Linked DNA regions of Homo sapiens: region 2 is linked to region 1. Evidence: promoter capture Hi-C in 16 types of primary human blood cells and fetal thymus (Javierre and others, 2016). All regions are on one chromosome and are shown on one strand. Each heading gives the region's core, a stretch centred on a gene start or on the middle of the fragment in contact. The rest is flanking DNA. Distances are from core to core; before and after follow the strand shown. Region 1 holds the start of RBM17 (RNA binding motif protein 17). Region 2 has its middle 56 kb from the start of LINP1.

Region 1 (2,888 bases), core at 111-2,610:
ACTCTTCGTCTGGCAAGGAGTGTGCCAATTATTTCTGTCTATTCACTCACTCCTACAGTGTTTGCTATGAATAATGAGATTATGTGATTTGGTGCAAAGATTTTCCTATTTTTCCTATTTTTTTCTTGATTGTGAATTGTGCTCCTCAAGATTATAAAATGTCCTTCTTAATCTTACTTAATGCTTTTTGCCCTGAAATCAACTTTGTAGTAAGCGGTTTGTGATTCCTGATTTTTTTAATTTTTTTGCATATTCCTGGTATATCTTTTCCAATCTTGTATTTTCAAACTCAGAATAACGTTAGCACTTTCTTGTATACAACACTGAGTTGCATGATGGTTTGTGCTCCTATCTGAGATTGTAGTTTTTTAGTAGGTAAGCTTAGGTCTATATTTCTTCTTGTGAGACATTTGGTCTTGTTCTGTCATATAGTTTGGTTACGCTTTCTGTTTTGTAACTTTTTAAAATATTTCCCTATATATATATTTTTTTTGCTGTGGTTTTGTGTGTGTGTGTGTGTGTGTGCATGCATGTATGTGTGGGTGCATGTATGTGTGGATTATTTGAAAGCTTTGTAGTTTTGTTCTGGGTTACCCTCAGAATCATACCATCCCATGACGTCCTTAATCCTCTATTTCTTTAGATTGTCTTTTGTCTCTCCACTGTATTTCTTTTTTCCCCCTTTTCCCGTTTTCTTAATGACTGGATTTTAATGGATTATAGTAACTTTCTTGGTATACTCCTTCGGACTAAGACGTCTGCTTAAATCTCTACTATTTGATTTATCGGCTTGAACTCTATTTGACACCCAATTAATTACAGATGTAAAAATCATATTTACCCGAAGTCCCACTTTCCCTTTCCCTCCCTGCTTCTGTCAGCGACGTCGTTTTTAAAGACCGAGGCTTTATAGCATTGACATTCTTTTCTGTACCCCTAATCGCGGCATCTGTTTCCATAATCTTACGCTTAACCTCGTGCTCCTTGCCATCCTTTTGCAGCATCTGGCCTATGCAGACTTATTTTCAACTTTTTGCTTATATAGGAGTGGCTTTGAATGAATGAGATCGAGGGGCCTGGAGGGACTTCCCCCACCTCCCCTATCAGAAAGCCCGGCCTCGGACCACTTCTCCTCCTCACCATCTGGGGGCGCTGCCGCGCTCCCCAAGCCTTGTGGAATTTCGAAAATGTGCGCCAGGGCGACACCTCTTGATGGTAAGAAGACGCCGGCGGAGGGGAGCGTGCAGTGCGGTCCTCCCGCGGGCAGGGGGCAGTGCGGCAAGGCGCCCTCGGCGCAGGCGCAGAGGCCGAAGCAGGCGCAGGCGCAGGCGGGGCGCAGGCGCGGGCGCGCTCTCCCGGCAGCCCGCGCTCCCTGACCCCGCGCCGCCGAGCGCCCTGAGGACTCAGCGAAGGGTGGGCGCCGCCGAGGCCTCCTGCCGCTGGCGGGTTTCCGCGGAGTGCCGCCCGGCTCCGCTCTGCCGCCGGCGCGGCTCATGGGCAGAGTCGGCCGGGCGGGCCGGGTAAGTGGCGCCCCGGCGGCCCCGGGTGGGTGGCCTGGCGGGACCTGAGGCGGGCGCGCCTTCCCGGGAGGCGCTAGACGCAAGCCCGCGGCTTTAGGCCCGTCGCGAGGGGCGGAGGCCGGGCCAGCGCAGCCGGAGCCTCCGAGGGTCTCAGTCCCCGCGGCGGGCGCTGGTCTCTCCACGCGGCTGCGGCCCGGTACCCTCCGCCCGCCGCCGCCTCTGGTGACCCTGGCCCTGACCTTCTCCCTCTTCCCTTCCTCCTCCTCCTCCTCATGTCTGCCTCGGGCTGTTTGGTGCTGAAGAGCGTTTCTTCTCCGTCTCGTGCACCGCATCCTGACGAAATTGTCTGGTCACCAGAACCGAGTAGCCCGTAGCGTGTCCCCCCTGGCCCTGCACGGTTGCCCCTCTCTGGGGCTCGGAGCCGGTTCCTCCCGGGGTCTCAGAACTGGGAGTGCAGACGTTGGCGTTTCTCAGACTCCGGAGCTGCCCGGGACAGGAATGCAGCCCTAACCCCGGCGTCGCCTCGGCTCGTGCAGTTTGAGCGGTGTTTCAGCGCTCACGTCCGACCCCAGGCAGTCTTTGAGCTTCGCCTCTTGCCCCGAGAATGTGTAATGATCGGAGAATGCAGGTGGAATGAGGTTCTGCCCCTGCTTGCAGGAGTTTGGTTTCTGGGAAAGCAGGCGTGAAAACCCAGGCCCGGGTTGATTTGAGAAACGCAAGTGGGGTCTGGAAGGACCTCTCTTGAGAGAGGAGGTCATGCTTATGTTGAGTCTTGAAGGTACGTTGTTAGATGTGAGAGGTGGGAAAAAGGCTGCCGGCGGAGGAAGTAAGTGCGAAAGTAGCAGAAGCGAAGCCCCGTAGTGCGTTCTGGAAGCTGCAGGTTAGGCAGAAAGAAAGGTTTGAGGAGGGGCTGCTGTGTTTCCAGGAGTAGTCAGGTCAGAACATGGAGGTTTCTTGAGAAGCAGTAAAGAAGCGCCATTGAGGGTCCTTATTTTGCTAGAGCCAGGCATATGGATGGGAAATAGGATATTCTAGATAAGGGCAAGATTCGCATATACTCAAATAGATGGGTAGATGTGCACTGGCTCCCCGCAGCAGATGGAGTTTTTAAAAGGATGCAACACAAGTTTCCACATTTTTAGTTGTAAAGGCTGCAGACATTTTGATCGTAATGACAGCTTTTAGGGAATATGGGGTAACAGTTTAGTGAGCTAAACGAGAGGGCTTTATTTTTAGAGTTAGTTAAGCAAGGTGCTGCGTGCTGTCCAGTTTATAACAGAGCAGGTTGTGCGGTTGTGGAGCTCTGCGGAACCAAAGGCAGCCTTTCTGGAGGCTCTTGAGAGAATTGTTGTACACTTCCAAATGCAG
Region 2 (2,888 bases), core at 273-2,772, 590 kb after region 1:
AACTGTGTGTGTGTGTGTGTGTGTGTGGAGAGAGAGAGAAATAGTGAAAGTTTAATGACAAATACTTTCATCTGGATCTTTCTTTTAAAGAACACATTTTTACCTTTAACCTGCCAAGAAAATGTTCTAACTCCTAGGGGCTCAATGGTTACTTTTGTTTACCAATGTCAAATTCGACATGTGCTTCTTATGATTTATATCTAAAGTCTAGTGCCATGATCACATTGAGAAAGAAAAAAATACCTTTGAAATAACCAGTTTAAGATGTCCCATGCCGCCAGACCCCCCCACTGTGAAACTCTCCATTGCTTCAAAAAGCTGAAGTTTCTGGTAGAAAAGACATATACTCTTTTCTGGAGAAGTAGCCACTTACATTTTATCCATGAATACAAAACATTTTTTTCATAGTTGATATTGTAGATATTACATAAATTTAATGGGCCCTGAAACTACTGGAAAATCTTTAAGTCATGTTGACTGCTTGGGTGATTTTGGATTCCTTGGCTTGCAAATCTCAGGAACTGTTTTAACAGAGAACAGTAGTGGCTTGTTTTGTGCTAAACCACCCCGACAGCAATTTAGTTGTCATTCAGCTACTAAAGCTTTACTTTATGGCTTTGAAAAACCTGGCTTTCCCTGTTCCATTATCTGCTGAGATAAAATGATATTGGAAGGTTATGACCGATGACAGAATGGCTTCTTTTCCCATCTTTTCTAGCCTCCCCATACGTTGGTCAACACGTGCCTTTTCTCGGCACTGAATGTTTTTAGAATGCTTTGCTTGCCTGCAGGCATTTTATGCTTACGAATTTCGCATCATTTCTTAACCTTCTCTGCATCTGCTTTCAGTCTCCAAAGGAGGCTAGAACGCTGGGTCCTCTGAGTCTACAGCTTCATTGCAGTAAAGAGGATGAGGGTGGGAGGGGGAGAGTACCTCTGGGGGGATTCTAATGCTCACATCCAATCTTGAATTGAGAGCAGTTGCCTGGGAAACAAAACCTCAAAAAATCTCATTTTCACATGCATCTTCAAATCTTCAAATGGCAGGACGTACTTCTGTGTTCAAAGGAAGTCCTCCAAGTCTAAGCGTCCAGCAAGTCGAGATTTATTATCTGCCCAACTCATCTCAGGATTCTATGGATATTTTCTATCACACTGGTAATCAAATAAGAATAACATACATGTGTTAAAAACAGACACAAATAAAAAAGGTTAAACTGGGTTTCTCTGGTTGTGTGAGTTGAGAGGCACCAGGGAATAGCAGAAAGGATTCTGCAATGCAGTCAGAAGACTCATTTTGCAAACATACCTCTAATTGGTAACTTAAATGTAAATTCGCGGTGAGTGCTTGGGCTGTGTGTCACAAATAAGACTCCCAGTCCCTGTTTCTTCATTGGTAAAGAGAAGTTTGGCATGGTCTCGAGATACTCCACTCCCGACCCCACCTCCTAGATCTAATAATTATCTGATCCTTTGGGAGTACCTAAAGGCTGTTGGCATCTTTCTACAAACATTTATTGGATAGTCATGATGTTGCCAATCTAGGGGAACTTCTTTCTATCACCTTAGGTTCTGTAACTGGAGCTTGCAAATCAAACTGATAAAATACAGAGTAACAGGAAAAAACATTTTATTTCAAATGCATGTGGCAGCTTTGCAGAAAAGAAGTGAAATCCCAAAGAAATGGTTAAGTTTGAGAGCTTATATACTATTTTAACAAAGGGTGATACATTGTGAAGAAGTGACAAAAGAAAAGGGGTTTCTAGGTGTGATAAATTGTGGAAAAAATTATATATATATAAAATATATATTATATATAGACAAGGGTTATTTAGTAAGTTTTTTTTTTTAATTCAAACGCAAGTCTCTAGTGATAAGCGTTATGTTGCATGATTAAGAGTCATTCTCCTCTTCCTGGTACAGGAGAGGGAGACGCCTTTACAAATAAAAATGTATTCCCTGTTTTTCAGGCAGAAAGAGGAAGGCCAGAGAATTCTTCCTGTATCTGCTGTTTCTCTAGTGCCTTCAGCTCAAATAATTTTTATGTCAAAGTGGCATATTTAAGGGTGGCATATTCTGATCTTTTTTATTAGCATAGTTCTTTTTTTTTTTCTTTTTCTGGCCCTTTTGTGTTTAGGCTAACTCATTGGTTCATTATTTGATTCATCATGGGCATTAACTACAAAAGAAATTTTGGGGGTAAAACATTAAAGAAAGGTATAATTTTTCAGAGATTATACAAGTTCAAGTGTATTTTTGGGATTTTTTTTCCATCAGAAATACATTCAACAGCAATGTTGATTATGCCACAGAGAATTGTCCTAATGAGTGTGTGTGTCTGCCACCCAAAACCAATGTTTGGAATGGAAATTATGCTTTCCTTCTAAAGGGCAGTATTATATATATATATTTCTTTCTTCAAAAATGTAATCTAGTAACAAGAAAGCTTCATTCTCAGTCTATGGGAGGGAAGTGCAATGAACTGGCTGGTTCCATTGTTACCATGCAACAATTTATTCTGAGCTATATGAACAAAAGACATTCTTCTCAGGGATGGCCTTATTAATCAGTTTATTATTCAATGGGTCAGAATTTGCATTTTGGTGAGTAGTATCGTTTTTATCTCTTCATGTTGCCAAAGTTGTAGTCACATTACAAGAGAGCTCTAAATTAACAGCACAGATATGCAGTTTCTTCAAGAGTAGTTAACTTTATTTCAAATGAATTCTGCTTCCTCTGCCTGGCATTTCTTTACCCGTTATCTCCAAATGTCCAAATTCAACCTATCACTTAAGACCTATTTCAAATGCTGTCTGCCCATCACCTCCTTTGAAGCTTCTCTTCCCTCTTTAAACTGCCATAGGGACAATTTTTTCTATATCGGGACA

The links. Contacts are between HindIII fragments. The CHiCAGO score rates a contact against its expected background, and 5 or more counts as called.
Region 2: a contact is called between a fragment that was not itself captured here and the fragment with the promoter of RBM17 in region 1, in 3 of 17 cell types (non-activated CD4 T cells, naive CD4 T cells and fetal thymus). The highest score is 7.4, in non-activated CD4 T cells.

The regions. Positions count from the first base shown.
Region 1 is chr10:6,087,674-6,090,561 of GRCh38, forward strand. RBM17 (RNA binding motif protein 17) reads left to right here and starts at 1,361. Exons shown (of 12, transcript NM_032905.5): 1 at 1,361-1,520. RefSeq lists enhancers at 1,013-1,062, 2,019-2,857 and silencers at 1,223-1,662, 1,673-1,762, 2,033-2,092. The HindIII fragment of the contact is 5,297 bases long and covers 569-2,888 here.
Region 2 is chr10:6,679,973-6,682,860 of GRCh38, forward strand. No RefSeq gene overlaps it. Among named protein-coding and RNA genes, the nearest start is that of LINP1, 56 kb to the right of the region's middle. The HindIII fragment of the contact is 1,844 bases long and covers 601-2,444 here.